Linked DNA regions of Homo sapiens: all the other regions are linked to region 4. The links are contacts of gene promoters, found by promoter capture Hi-C in human tissues and cell types (Jung and others, 2019). All regions are on one chromosome and are shown on one strand. Each heading gives the region's core, a stretch centred on a gene start or on the middle of the fragment in contact. The rest is flanking DNA. Distances are from core to core; before and after follow the strand shown. Region 1 overlaps SLC25A21 (solute carrier family 25 member 21). Region 2 overlaps SLC25A21 (solute carrier family 25 member 21). Region 3 overlaps SLC25A21 (solute carrier family 25 member 21). Region 4 holds the start of PAX9 (paired box 9).

Region 1 (2,700 bases), core at 46-2,545, 490 kb before region 4:
GCTGAGGAGATAGCAGTCGAGACCCTGGGCTATGTGCTCTGTTAAGGTGGGAGAAGTGAAGGAGCGAAGCTAGGCTCGTGGGGCTTGTGGTGAGAGCAGGCACCAGCTGTGGTGGCCAGGATGATCCTTAGGCCTCAGGCTAAGTGCTTGTGTTAGAGACAGTAGCAGCCATGCTGAGGCCCCACCACTGGAGAGGGAGCTGCTGTCTTTGTGGCAACAGCCTGGGCCAGTGGGTAGGGAATGCACGTTTCTTTCTAGCCCCAGTCCTGGGGGTTCACCCCCTACCCTGGCAGTGGTAGCTGATGCTTAGCTTGTTCCCCCACCCCAGCTGTAGGAGCACCCACCCAACTCGCAACCAAGTCCCACCAGCAACTCATTCTGCTCACTTACATGCCAGTCTCTGTCCTGACAGCACCCGCTTCCTGGCACTGGCTGCTGCAGCTCATGTCTTGCTTGCTTCTTATCCCTGGCTGTGGGAATGCTCCCATCTTACTCCTCATTCCAGCAGTGATAACTTGAGCTTTTGTAATGTCTCAGTCTTGGTGCTGCTGGCCTGAAGGACAGTGTGCAGTTTATGAGAGGCTAGCTTTGAAAATGGCACCTTCCTGTAGCTTCTTAGGTCTTATAAATGGTGTGGGAGCTCCCTCCCTGGAGCAGCCCTGTCCCTTCGTCTCCCATCAACTTCCTGTGTTAGTTTCAGGGCTTGGGATGGTCAAGGGGCTCTCCTGTGGCTAGGATTGCATGATCTGATGGTGGGGATGTGGGCTGCTGGAAGTCTGTCACTCACCCTTTCCTCATGTTAGGAAGTCACTCCCAGCTCTTAGCCAGTCCTGACCAGGGATGCTGCCTCTTTTCCTCCTTCCCCACTTTTGGTGTTTCCTGTCTCTTCTGTGTTGAGCATCAGCATTCTGTCTTGGATAACGTATTTGAAGTGTGACTGTCTATATACTATTCCAGTTCTTCTAAGTAGAGCCAGAAAATCCTACTCAACCATCTTGAACCTTTCTCCCCTATTTGATTAGTCTTCTATTGTCTCCACTTTCCCTTTCCTCAAAAATTGATATTCTACATGTTTGTAAGTTTTTTGCTTTACACAGTCTTTTAAAAATTTATTTTAAATTCATTTTATTTAGTTTTTTTCTTCTTGTGTTTTACACATTCTAACTCCCCAAACAAACCCATCCACTCTTTGGCTTCAGTGTTGTCTGTTTGCAGGTGACTTCCAGAACTGTGTTTCTGACTTCTCTGCGCTCTGCAGGCTCACATTTTTAAGGTATATAGCAGAAATAAAATGAAATTAACTGGGCATGGTGGCAGGCGCCTGTAGTCCCAGCTAGTCAGGAGGCTGAAGCAGGAGAATTGCTTGAACCCGGAGCAGAGGTTGCAGTGAGCTGAGATTGTGCCACTGCACTTCAGTCTGGGTGAGAGAGCGAGACTCTGTCAAAAAAAAAAAAAAATTGAAATAAAATGAAATTGAGAGTCAGTGGACGCTAATGGTTTTCAAAGATGTTTCAGAGATATATTTTGAAACTAATATCAGACCTTCAAACAAATTATCATTTTCTCATTTCTATTTTGAGTTCAGTCTTTTCATTCATTCTTTTTGTCATCTTTAGAAGTCACAATGAACTTCCTGGGATATTTGTTTGGGTTGGGTAGATCCTTCCTAACTATCATAGTCAATAAGTATGATAAGATTTTAAAAAGTAAGATAAATCTTATCTTTTGAGTGCTAACATTTACTGAATGCTTACTATGTGCAAAGCATCTTACTTTGCTTAAATAATCTCTATTATTATTATTATTTTTGAGATGGGGTTTCTCTCTGTCGCCCACACTGGAGTGCAGTGAAGTGACCTCGGCTCACTGCAAACCCCTTCTCCTGGGTTCAAGCGTCTCTCTTGCCTCAGCCTCCAAAGTAGCTGGGATTACAGGCACATGCCACCCTGCCCAGCTAATATTTGTATTTTTAGTAGAGACAGGGTTTCACTATGTTGGCCAGGCTCGTCTTGAACTCCTGACCTCAAGTGATCTGCCCGCCTTGGCCTCCCAAAGTGCTGGATTCCAGGCATGAGCCAATTTGTAATTTCTTGAAGATGAGGAAAGTGAAGCTCAGAGAAATTAAATATCTTGTTCAAGGCTGATGACAGACACAGACTCAAACTCTGCTCTTTGCTTTCAAAGCTTGAGCTCTCATCCATTACTCCACCCTGCCTCTTAGTGTGCAGAATGAGAAATCAGGTAAGCAGCCCCTTCAAGTATTGCCCCCATAAGTCTTCTTTTTCTCTCTGGTTATGTTAAATACCACAGCTTTTTCTTGAACTTGAGTGTTAATGAACAAACAGGGTCTGCCCTTGTACAAAAGTCCATTTCTTGTTTTTGCAGATTTTTAAATGCCAGCCATAGCTTAAGTATGAAATTCTCCATATTAACCAGCAGTGCCTCTGTTGGCATTAATGCGGCATCTTTTTTTCTGCCAGATGCTACAGGCAATTGGTCAGGAAGTGGGCCAAGCCTCCACCCTCACGTATTGTTAACTGAATTCGCACACAACTAATAAGATACTGGTGTGACTCAGTAGAGTGAGAGCAACCCAAGAGTGGACAGGAGGGGCCTGTCTGAAAAAGGAGGGAATCTTAAGTCGCATGTAATTTAATGTCTGTAAAAACTAGAATAGACTACTGTAGGGAGAACGTATAG
Region 2 (3,075 bases), core at 360-2,859, 370 kb before region 4:
TACAAACTGATGATATGAGGCCCTCAGTTTTTATAGTGTGTTCTTTCTGAAGCTGAATGCTAGGTCACAAACATAACCTTTTACACCAAAAAATTAATCACTGATGCTCATTTCTTAGATTCTACTAGATTCGTCCCGGGAATTCTGTCAAAAAGAAGGAACTAGCAAGGTATATAATATCTTAGGAGGCTAATCCAGAAAAAATGGAAAGTATGTACATGGTGCAAGACTTTTTCAGTGTAGATTCAGAAAACATTTGTTCCCAAGCTGGAACTCATGAAGATGTGGCAACTAAAAGATTATTCAAGGGGTGATACCCCAGGTGGAGGAATATCATGAGTAACTGAGAGCTAGAGAGAGATCAGGGACTCAAAAGAAGTACAGTTGACCCTCAAACGACCCGGGTTTCAATTGATCAGGTCTATTTCTGTGTGGATTTTCTTCTGCCTCCTGCCACCCCAGAGACAGCAAGACCAACCCCTCTTCCTCTTCCTCCTCAGTCTATTCAACATAAAGATGATGAAGATAAAGACCTTTATGATGATCTACTTCCACTTAATGAAAAGTAAATGTATTTTCTCTTTCTTATGATTTTCCTAAAAACATTTTCTTTTCTTTATATAATACATATACAAAGTGTTAGTCAACTGTTCATGTTATTGGTAAGGCTTCCAGTCAAGAGTAGGCTATTCGGCCAGGTGCAGTGGCTCACGCCTGTAATCCCAGCACTTTGGGAAGCCAAGGCAGGCAGATCACTTGAGGTCAGGAGTTTGAGACCAGCCTGGACAACATAGTGAAATCTCATCTCTACTAAAAATAAAAAAATTAGCCAGATATGGTGGCACACGCTTGTAATCCCCGCTACTTGGGAGGCTGAGGCAGGAGAATCACTGGAACCTGGAAGGCAGAGGTTGGAGTGAGCCGAGGTCATGCCATTGCACTCCAGCCTGGGTGACAGAGTGAGGATCTGTCTCAAAAAAAAAAAAAAAAAAAAAAAAGTCGGCTATTAGTAGTTAAGTTTTGGGGGCGTCAAAAGCTATATACCAGTTTTCTTCTGTGTGGGGGTGTTGGTGCCCCTACTCCCTATCTTGCTGAAAGGCCAACTGTATTTCAGAGTAAGACAAGTGACTTCCAGGGAGGGATCCCCTCTTTTCAGCAGAGGGATTCTGTCTGTAAGTACTGTGCTAACACTACTGGTGGAAACATGGCTGCTGAAAACTGAGTAGAGTTTGACCTTATATTTTGACTCAGAAATTAAAGATGCACTGTTTAAGTGGCACTGAGTATGCCCAGCTTTCGTTGTAAAATTGAGTTAATTACATTTGCCTATTCACAAAGACTTATGCAGTAACAACAGCAAGCTTTATATTTCTTGAAAAAAAGAAATATGGAGTCTGCAAAGGGGTAGGACCATTCCTCTTTAACCCTCCTTGGATTGCAGACTGCTAAGAATGTAGACTGGCTTCATGTGCTCTATCATTTTTGAAGATCTCAGTTAGTAGCATTTACATTAACTGTCTGAAAGGAAAAAATTAAACCTTCCTTTTAAATATTGCTTGTCATTGAGTTCCTCTCTAATCCTTAGGCAAATTGTGCATTGTTGATCTAGTTCCACAAGACAATTTCTGAATCAAAACTCTGAATATGATATAGCCACTTATTTAAGGAACATTGACCCCAAAGAAAGATCATAATGTGGAAACATATTGGAGAATAAAACATTTAACTCTCTTGTTTCTGTTATTCTGATGTGCTGGCAAGTACTAGTTAGAATAATTGGCAAGGACTAGTGAGAAATGCTATTTAGACTTAGGAAACCTACAAAACTATATCCCACTGGAAAGGTAAATATGTCATGTTATGTGTCCAACAATAATAGCTATAACAAGAACATCTGAGACTTTTCCCTGGGCTTTAAACCACTTAAGTAATTTTCTTCAAAATATTAATTTTCTGATGTAATGTTCTCTGTCACTCTCTTTCATTGGGAACTGAGTTGAATGTACCCAAGTGCATTAAAAAATGCTCTAAAGATGTCACCATTGAAGAAACGTTATCCTATAATTTCAATATTTGTTGTTCAAAAATACTTTAATGTTATTTTTTATTCATACATCTAAGCATCCATCCAGGGTTGTAATGGTGGTTAACAGCCAGAAAAGGTGACCAAAACTTACAGTCTTGTTTTCTTCAGGAATTCACTGTCTTGCATCAGATAATATTTTTAGGTTTTTATTATTTAAAAATAAATACTGGAACATCAATAAAAAGATACCATCACCAACCTACCATTGATTTGTCCTTTGTTATAATTGGCAAGCTGAAGCAGAAATAAAGTGCTTCAATTCAAGAGAAGTGACACTAATGATGGTGATAGAAGAATGAAAAGCAAATAAGAAGTAGAATTTGAAGTGACATGAATAATTTTACTGACTAGTGTTAGATACAGAAACCTCTTCCCCAATGCTATTGCTTTGCTGTGCTTTTTCATTATAATTTTTTTTCTTCTCAACCACTATTGGTATACCAATGTTGAATTAAAAAAAAGATTTACACTGTAAGTATAGGCTTCTTTGGGGCTCAGAAAGTAGCTTTTCATTGTTTGCTGTTTATACACACGTCTCCTTACAAAAAAATATTTACAGTTATTTAAGAATTTGGATATAATATATCACTTCAGTAAAATTTGAAAAAATTTAGCATTTTAAAGTTAAAATATTAAAATGTTTTCTTAGTTTAGATACTAAAGATTATTACTATAATGTAATTGTGTATCATGTAATTATGTCTTGGAAGATTGAATCAATTGGTATTTGAAAAGGTTTATAGGTAAAGTTTTTAGAAGATTACGTTTCTAGAGTTTTTTATGCAGTGGAATTTCTGATGCTACAGTAAATTAAAAAGTTGGATGATTTTCATGTGATATCTTATTTCACTAATACAGAACAACCTTGAACCGCACTAGAGCAATAATTACTTAACCTAAATCAGAGACCAAGCCAGGCCAAACAGCTGTTTTCATTTTGTTAGGAGATCCATTTGATTTACTCTTTTAGTCAGCTTTCATTACTGTAG
Region 3 (2,937 bases), core at 89-2,588, 280 kb before region 4:
ATGACCTATCCAGTCATTCTATATCTGCAATTCCTTCACAGTACTTTTCTCCAGTTTCTCAGATCAGCCCAAATCTTGGTTGGAATACTGGATTCTGTACTTTGTCCTTTTTCAGTATCAGACAATCGTAATATGGTCAGAGTTCTATCCAACTTCAAAGATGGTCATCTGAAAGTCTGAAATTCTTTGTTGCTGTGAAGTTCAATGAAAAGATTTCAGTGTTGAATTCAACCCAGACCACAGAACGATTAAATTCTTTGTTTTTGATACGTTGCATGGTAAGATATTGTGTAATCGAGTTGCTTGCAACTTTCTGACTTATTTTATTTAGAAAAAAATGACCAGGCTATTAACTATATATGGCAATTAAAGGAAAGTGCATTGAACATCCTGGCAACACATCACTTTTTTCTGTATTTGATTTAGGCCTCTGTAAAAGGACACCCTCATGCCTTTAAAGTTAAAATACTGTCAATCCCACCATAAACTCCTATTTTTAGGAGTTTTGATTTATAATGCAACCTTTAAAAAAAATACCAACCTACATTCAGAGTAGTATATTTTTTTAAATCTTAGAGAAAATTTTATTAAAATATTGGAATAAACATAGTGTCATTTCCTTTAATTTGGAAGAAAATGAATGAAAAAGAATCAGTGGTTTCAAACACATTTTTCTTCCTTTTCAACTCCAAACTAGCTTAGTTATATGGAAAAGTAATGTATGAACAGATTAATTGAAAGGGGCTGCTGGTAGTCGTTGTTAAAGTTGACTGAGTTCAAGTCTAATGATGAAACTTTGCAATACGCAGTTTAGAATATACACGTAACATTCTTTATTAGATTCTCATTCTATAATACTTACATGAGAAAGGAGGCTTGTACATACCTAAGGTGATTTTTAAACTCTGCTCTGGTACACTGCAGACTGCTATTGACGACGAAGATCTCTTTAGCAAATATGACGTGGAGGAGAACGCTGAATGTAAAACAGATATGTGAAACAATTAGAAACCAGATCTTCTTATTTCTGTGAGTTCACATTCGCAGTGACTAAAATTGTGCATGTTTTCCATTCATTCAGTTTTGATTTTGCTCAAGTGGTTCTAATGGCGCTGATTTTTAAGTTCCTGTGTCTTCTGAATCCATTTTATCCCCTTTTAATGAGCTTAATAAAACGTAAGTAGAATGGTTTGTATGCCATTTATTTTTATATGTATTTAAATATTAAATACATTTCCCTCAAATAAACCATTGGTCTTTCTGATATAAAAAGCATTAAAAAATAAAAGGTTTCTCTCACATAGGACAGCAAGAGGAAGATTTTCAAGAAGTTGGGAGAAAGGAGAGAGGTTGGGTTCTGGGAGATTTGACAAAGCTCCAGGTAACCTGGAGATAGTATGTCACAAAGATTTAGATGGACAACAAGATTATGGGTAACAAAAAGGGGACATAAATCATGTTTATTTGACATGGCCATTTAACAAAAAAAATGCTGTCTTAACAAGCAGTGCACATGAGTATATTCTATTTAATCGTATTGCAGTCAAACCCCTCACAAAAGAAAATATGCATGATAGAGAATTCGTATTTACATTCCCCCCCCACCCCTGGCTCCAGCTTATATGATTTGGAAACACAAACTGCTCCCCCAACCCGACTTTTTTTAGAATACAGAAATAAGACTTTCTTTTGTTTTTTCATGGATGAGTCCGACCACAAATTTAGGTTTACTAATGAGTGTTACAAATTAGCTGGGAAACACAAAATTTTGCAACAAAACCTGCCTTTTAAGTAAAGCTGTTATATGAAATTCCAACTCTGCACCAGAGACATGTTTGAGAAGACTTCATTAATTACAAACAGATTTATAATTTAAGCAATAAATTAATGTATCTGAAATACAATTCAGTTTACAGAACTTGGGTTTACATAAAACTTTTCAGAAACACAAGCTGAGAGTAGTGAACAAGAGTAAGCATAAGAGAGTTAAATCTGAATATATTAGAGACTGATTTATTTCAGTGATGCAATAAGAAATATAGATTTCTGAAGTTTTTTGTTTTTGTTTTTGTTTTTTTACTAATTTATGTTTTACTCATTACATATGCCATGTTTGTATACATGTGCCTTAAATTGATTGGTTTTCATCAGGTTTCTGTTGGGAAGTTTATGAGTCTAAGTTATTGTTCAGGAACCAAAATTCTTTGTGGTTGGTCCTGTTTGTTCATTAATTGAATAAAACAACGAGATGTGAACATGATGATCAGATTGGATTTTCTGTGCAATGATCCAGCTGATTGATTGGCAATCATTTATCATGTATTGAAATATCAAAATCAACCAAGCAGAAGAAAGTGTATTTGATTCTGCACATAGACTAAGGCTCAGCGGGATGCAGACTTAGAAGGCCGTAACACAGAGATGACAAGGACACCAAACCTGCTGCTCTGCTAAGGCTGTCCAGAGACTGAGTCTCAAACAGAACTTTGCCCTAATTAATGCACAAGGTGGTCTTTGCCTTATGAAGAGCTGTGTCATCCTGCAATGAGTGAACTCCACCTAATTAGAGTCCTAGATCAGTAGACCCCTGTGGAATCTTAGTTAAAGGCCTGGCACAGTCCACTCTGTGCCTAGGGGAGTTGATTTGTTACCATACGTGAGTCTGTTTAAATTGAAATCTAGGTGTTGCCAGGAGAAGGCTTCTCGAAGAAAGATGAAGTAAGAAAGGATTCAACACTAGGGCTCTATATGTAGCTTAACAGCATGCGTTCAGGGAGTATGTTTGAGAAAACAATCTAAATCAAGGGTTAACATGCAGACCATTTTTGCAGCATTTTGCTGAGCACCCAAAAGAAAAAACAAGCCAAACATTATATCGAGTTGCCATTAAAAAAAATTTTTTTTTAAAAAAAGTTGTTCTTCTCTCCAGAAAATGTC
Region 4 (2,882 bases), core at 202-2,701:
AATGACCCTGCTGGGCCAAGTTGCCGATCTTGTTGCGCAGAATGCGGCTGATGGAGCTCACGGAGGGCACATTGTACTTGTCGCACACGCCGTCCGCCAGCAGGCGGTCCCGGATCTCCCAGGCGAAGATGCCGGGGTCTCTCTGCTTGTAGGTCCGGATGTGTTTCACCACGGTGGGGGTAGTGACCCGGGGCTTGCTGCCCCCGATGGCTCCTGGCAAGATCGAGCCCGTCTCGTTGTATCGCGCCAGGATCTTGCTGACGCAGCCGTGCGAGACCCGTAGCTGGCGGCTGATGTCACACGGTCGGATGCCCAGTTGGGCCAGTTCCACGATGCGAAGCCGGATGGCGTTGGGCAGCGGCCTCCCGTTCACGAACACTCCTCCCAGCTGGTTCACCTCCCCGAAGGCTGGCTCTGCAAAATGAACACACAGCGCGCAGGGACGCGCACCCGCTGCTTGGGACAGCTGCCTGCCACTGGGCCTCCCTACGCATCCGGGGACTGGGCGAACGCACCCGTCCCCTACTAACTACTGGGGCTGTCCCCAAACCATATGGTCCCTGAACATAGCCGAACGGCCCCAAACCGTCACTGTCCAATCGGACCCCCTCCCTCATTCCTGCCGTGCCGGAGGCCCCTACGGCCAAGTAAAGTGGTGAGATGCCGGGCCTCTCCGAGCGTTCAAAAGTCTCCCGAAGCAGGGGGAGAAATCGGTCTTGACGCCTGAACGTGCTCCTTCTCGCCTGCTCCTCACTAAAGTCCTTGAGCCGCTCCCTCTCTCCACCCATCCCATCCCCAGCGTTCCTTCTGGAGACCCGGCCAGTTAAACAAAGTCTAGGGGAAGCTAGAGGGTGTTTTATTTGTTGTTGTTTGTTTTCTTTTCTTTTCTTTTCCTGTTTTGTTTGCATGTGTGCGCGCGTGTGAAACAAAACTTGGTTTGCTACTCGGGCTGAGGGGCTCGCTGATGCCACAGCTCCCTTCTCTTAAAATCAGAAAATGGCATCAACAGCCACCCAGTAGCCAGCGTTCACATTGAACTGCTGTGCGCCGCTGACCCTTAGCGTGTTCCTACAACTTGTAGGAACACGAGCAAAGTCAATAGAGAATGTGAGCGCCTAGTGGCGCGCGCCCTCGCGCTCCCTCCCTCCCTCCCTCCCTTGCCCGCTCGCTCCCTCCCTCCCTTCCCGGCTCTGACAGAGTCCCCCGCCGCCACTCACCCATTGCTCCGAGCAGTACACCAACCCGGCCCCAGTTCCGCACTCCCAGACAGAAACTTTCCGCACCGCCTCAGTGGCCCGGCCTGTTGCTATCCCGGCCGACCGCCGGCGCCTCCGCTTCTTCCCAGGAGGAGGAGGCGAGAGGGCAAAAGGAAGAAGTAAAAGGAAGTCTGTGCCCCGATGAAAGAGGCTTGAGTTCTGCATTTCAATCTAAGCAGCAACGTGGGCTGGGCTGAGCAGGGCAGGGCGGCTCCGTCTATCACTCACTGGGGACACGCCCTAAAAGGGGCGGGTCCGAGGGCAAGCTGCATGGTGATTGGTGCGGGTCGGTGAGCGACAGCGCAGTCCAGGAAACTCCTTCCGCTGTCTCTTTCAGGCTAGCTCCCCACCTGGGTGACTAAATACAATGAAAATGGGTGTTTGACATCTTCCCAGAAGCGGCACAAAAAGACAGCAAAATCAGGCTGGTAAAATGCTGAATAAACAAATGAAAGCGTTTGGTCTGAATGTGAATGACTCGAAGGGAGAAGGGGCCCGAGGAGACCTCCTCCGGGGAACGATGGACATCTCAGAATTGAAGTTAAGGCTATAGGTGGGAGGCGGGCGCCACCGTGCACAGGGGTGAGGGAGTTGTCTTAGCAAAATCTGTCATGCGGGCCTCTGGGGACTGTCAGGAGAGGATCTGTGTCACCTGCCGATTCTACCTCACTTCAGTCCATGCCAGGTGGCGAGAGCGCAGGTGTGAGAAGATAGGCCGGCCAAAGAAACCAGGAGGTTGCGGGGAGCCCGAGCCACAGGTGGGGGCCACTGTTAAGGCCAGGGAGGTTCCTCCTACCGCCAGCTTCCTGCGGCGACCCCCCAGTCCAGGTGGACCGGCCAACCACTAGCCACACAGGCTCGAGGCACGGGCCACGCCGTGTGCGGGGAACTGAACCACAGGCGGCTAACGCTAGCGCACAGCCCCAAGTCGACCAATTGCCAGTGCGTGGGGCACTCACTACGGAGCCCAAGGCTCTGCCACATTCAGCCACTGTCCTGGGCCCCTGGCCCTCGGTGGCAGCGTTTGTGAGGGTTCTCCAAACCAGCGAGCCCTCTCGAAAGAGTTTTGTTTAAATATGAAAGAGACTTAGTCCCAAGACAGTGGACACCGACGCTGCACATGGATGTAATTCCCTCGTCTTCCATTAAGCTCCAGAGGCCCTGTCGTTCTGCCTACTTCTGAATTTTCACTTTTATTCACTGTAAGTCTAATCTAAAGTGTACCGTATGCTTTTTTGCAGCCAAAGTTATTAATATTTGCAGTTAGGGTTGTGGAGAATGTGAATCAAAATAATAAACAAGAAGAGAAATATTTTCGTGAATTTGGGAGTTTGTACTGCTTGGGGTCGTGAACTCTGTTACTGCTACTTGACAATCCAGAAGGCTCCTTGTGCACACAGGATTCAGGCTGCTTCCCCAACAGTCCCCAGGGATGTGTGTGGCTGCGGTCTACACCCAGAGAAGCTGACTGGTCCCAGATCTCAGGTCAGTAAGTTGCAAGAACCCAGGAAAAAACTATGATCAGCCATGCTTCTGCAAAGGAACAGATCTCCAGATTCCCACTTCTATGGTTAGGATGCACTCTAAATTCAAAATTACCTAACAGAATGGAGGATGTGAAAGGTA

The links. Contacts are between HindIII fragments. The study calls those that stand out against the background at their distance.
Region 1: a contact is called between a fragment that was not itself captured here and the fragment with the promoter of PAX9 in region 4, in 2 of the 25 tissues and cell types used here (H1 embryonic stem cells and IMR-90 fibroblasts).
Region 2: a contact is called between a fragment that was not itself captured here and the fragment with the promoter of PAX9 in region 4, in 1 of the 25 tissues and cell types used here (mesendoderm cells).
Region 3: a fragment that was not itself captured here is called in contact with the fragment with the promoter of PAX9 in region 4 in 2 of the 25 tissues and cell types used here (H1 embryonic stem cells and mesendoderm cells).

The regions. Positions count from the first base shown.
Region 1 is chr14:37,151,144-37,153,843 of GRCh38, reverse strand. All of the region lies in intron 1 of SLC25A21 (solute carrier family 25 member 21), which reads left to right. Among named protein-coding and RNA genes, the nearest start is that of SLC25A21-AS1, 20 kb to the left of the region's middle. The HindIII fragment of the contact is 4,167 bases long and covers 1-2,700 here.
Region 2 is chr14:37,027,682-37,030,756 of GRCh38, reverse strand. The region is part of intron 1 of SLC25A21 (solute carrier family 25 member 21); the gene reads left to right. Among named protein-coding and RNA genes, the nearest start is that of MIR4503, 77 kb to the right of the region's middle. The HindIII fragment of the contact is 8,550 bases long and covers 1-3,075 here.
Region 3 is chr14:36,937,975-36,940,911 of GRCh38, reverse strand. All of the region lies in intron 1 of SLC25A21 (solute carrier family 25 member 21), which reads left to right. Among named protein-coding and RNA genes, the nearest start is that of MIR4503, 13 kb to the left of the region's middle. The HindIII fragment of the contact is 4,308 bases long and covers 1-2,937 here.
Region 4 is chr14:36,660,429-36,663,310 of GRCh38, reverse strand. It overlaps PAX9 (paired box 9), which reads right to left and starts at 1,451. Exons shown (of 4, transcript NM_001372076.1): 1 at 1,218-1,451; 2 at 1-414. The coding sequence starts at 1,221. RefSeq lists enhancers at 1-471, 472-983, a cis regulatory region at 1,748-2,260 and a promoter at 1,520-2,717. The HindIII fragment of the contact is 9,466 bases long and covers 1,367-2,882 here.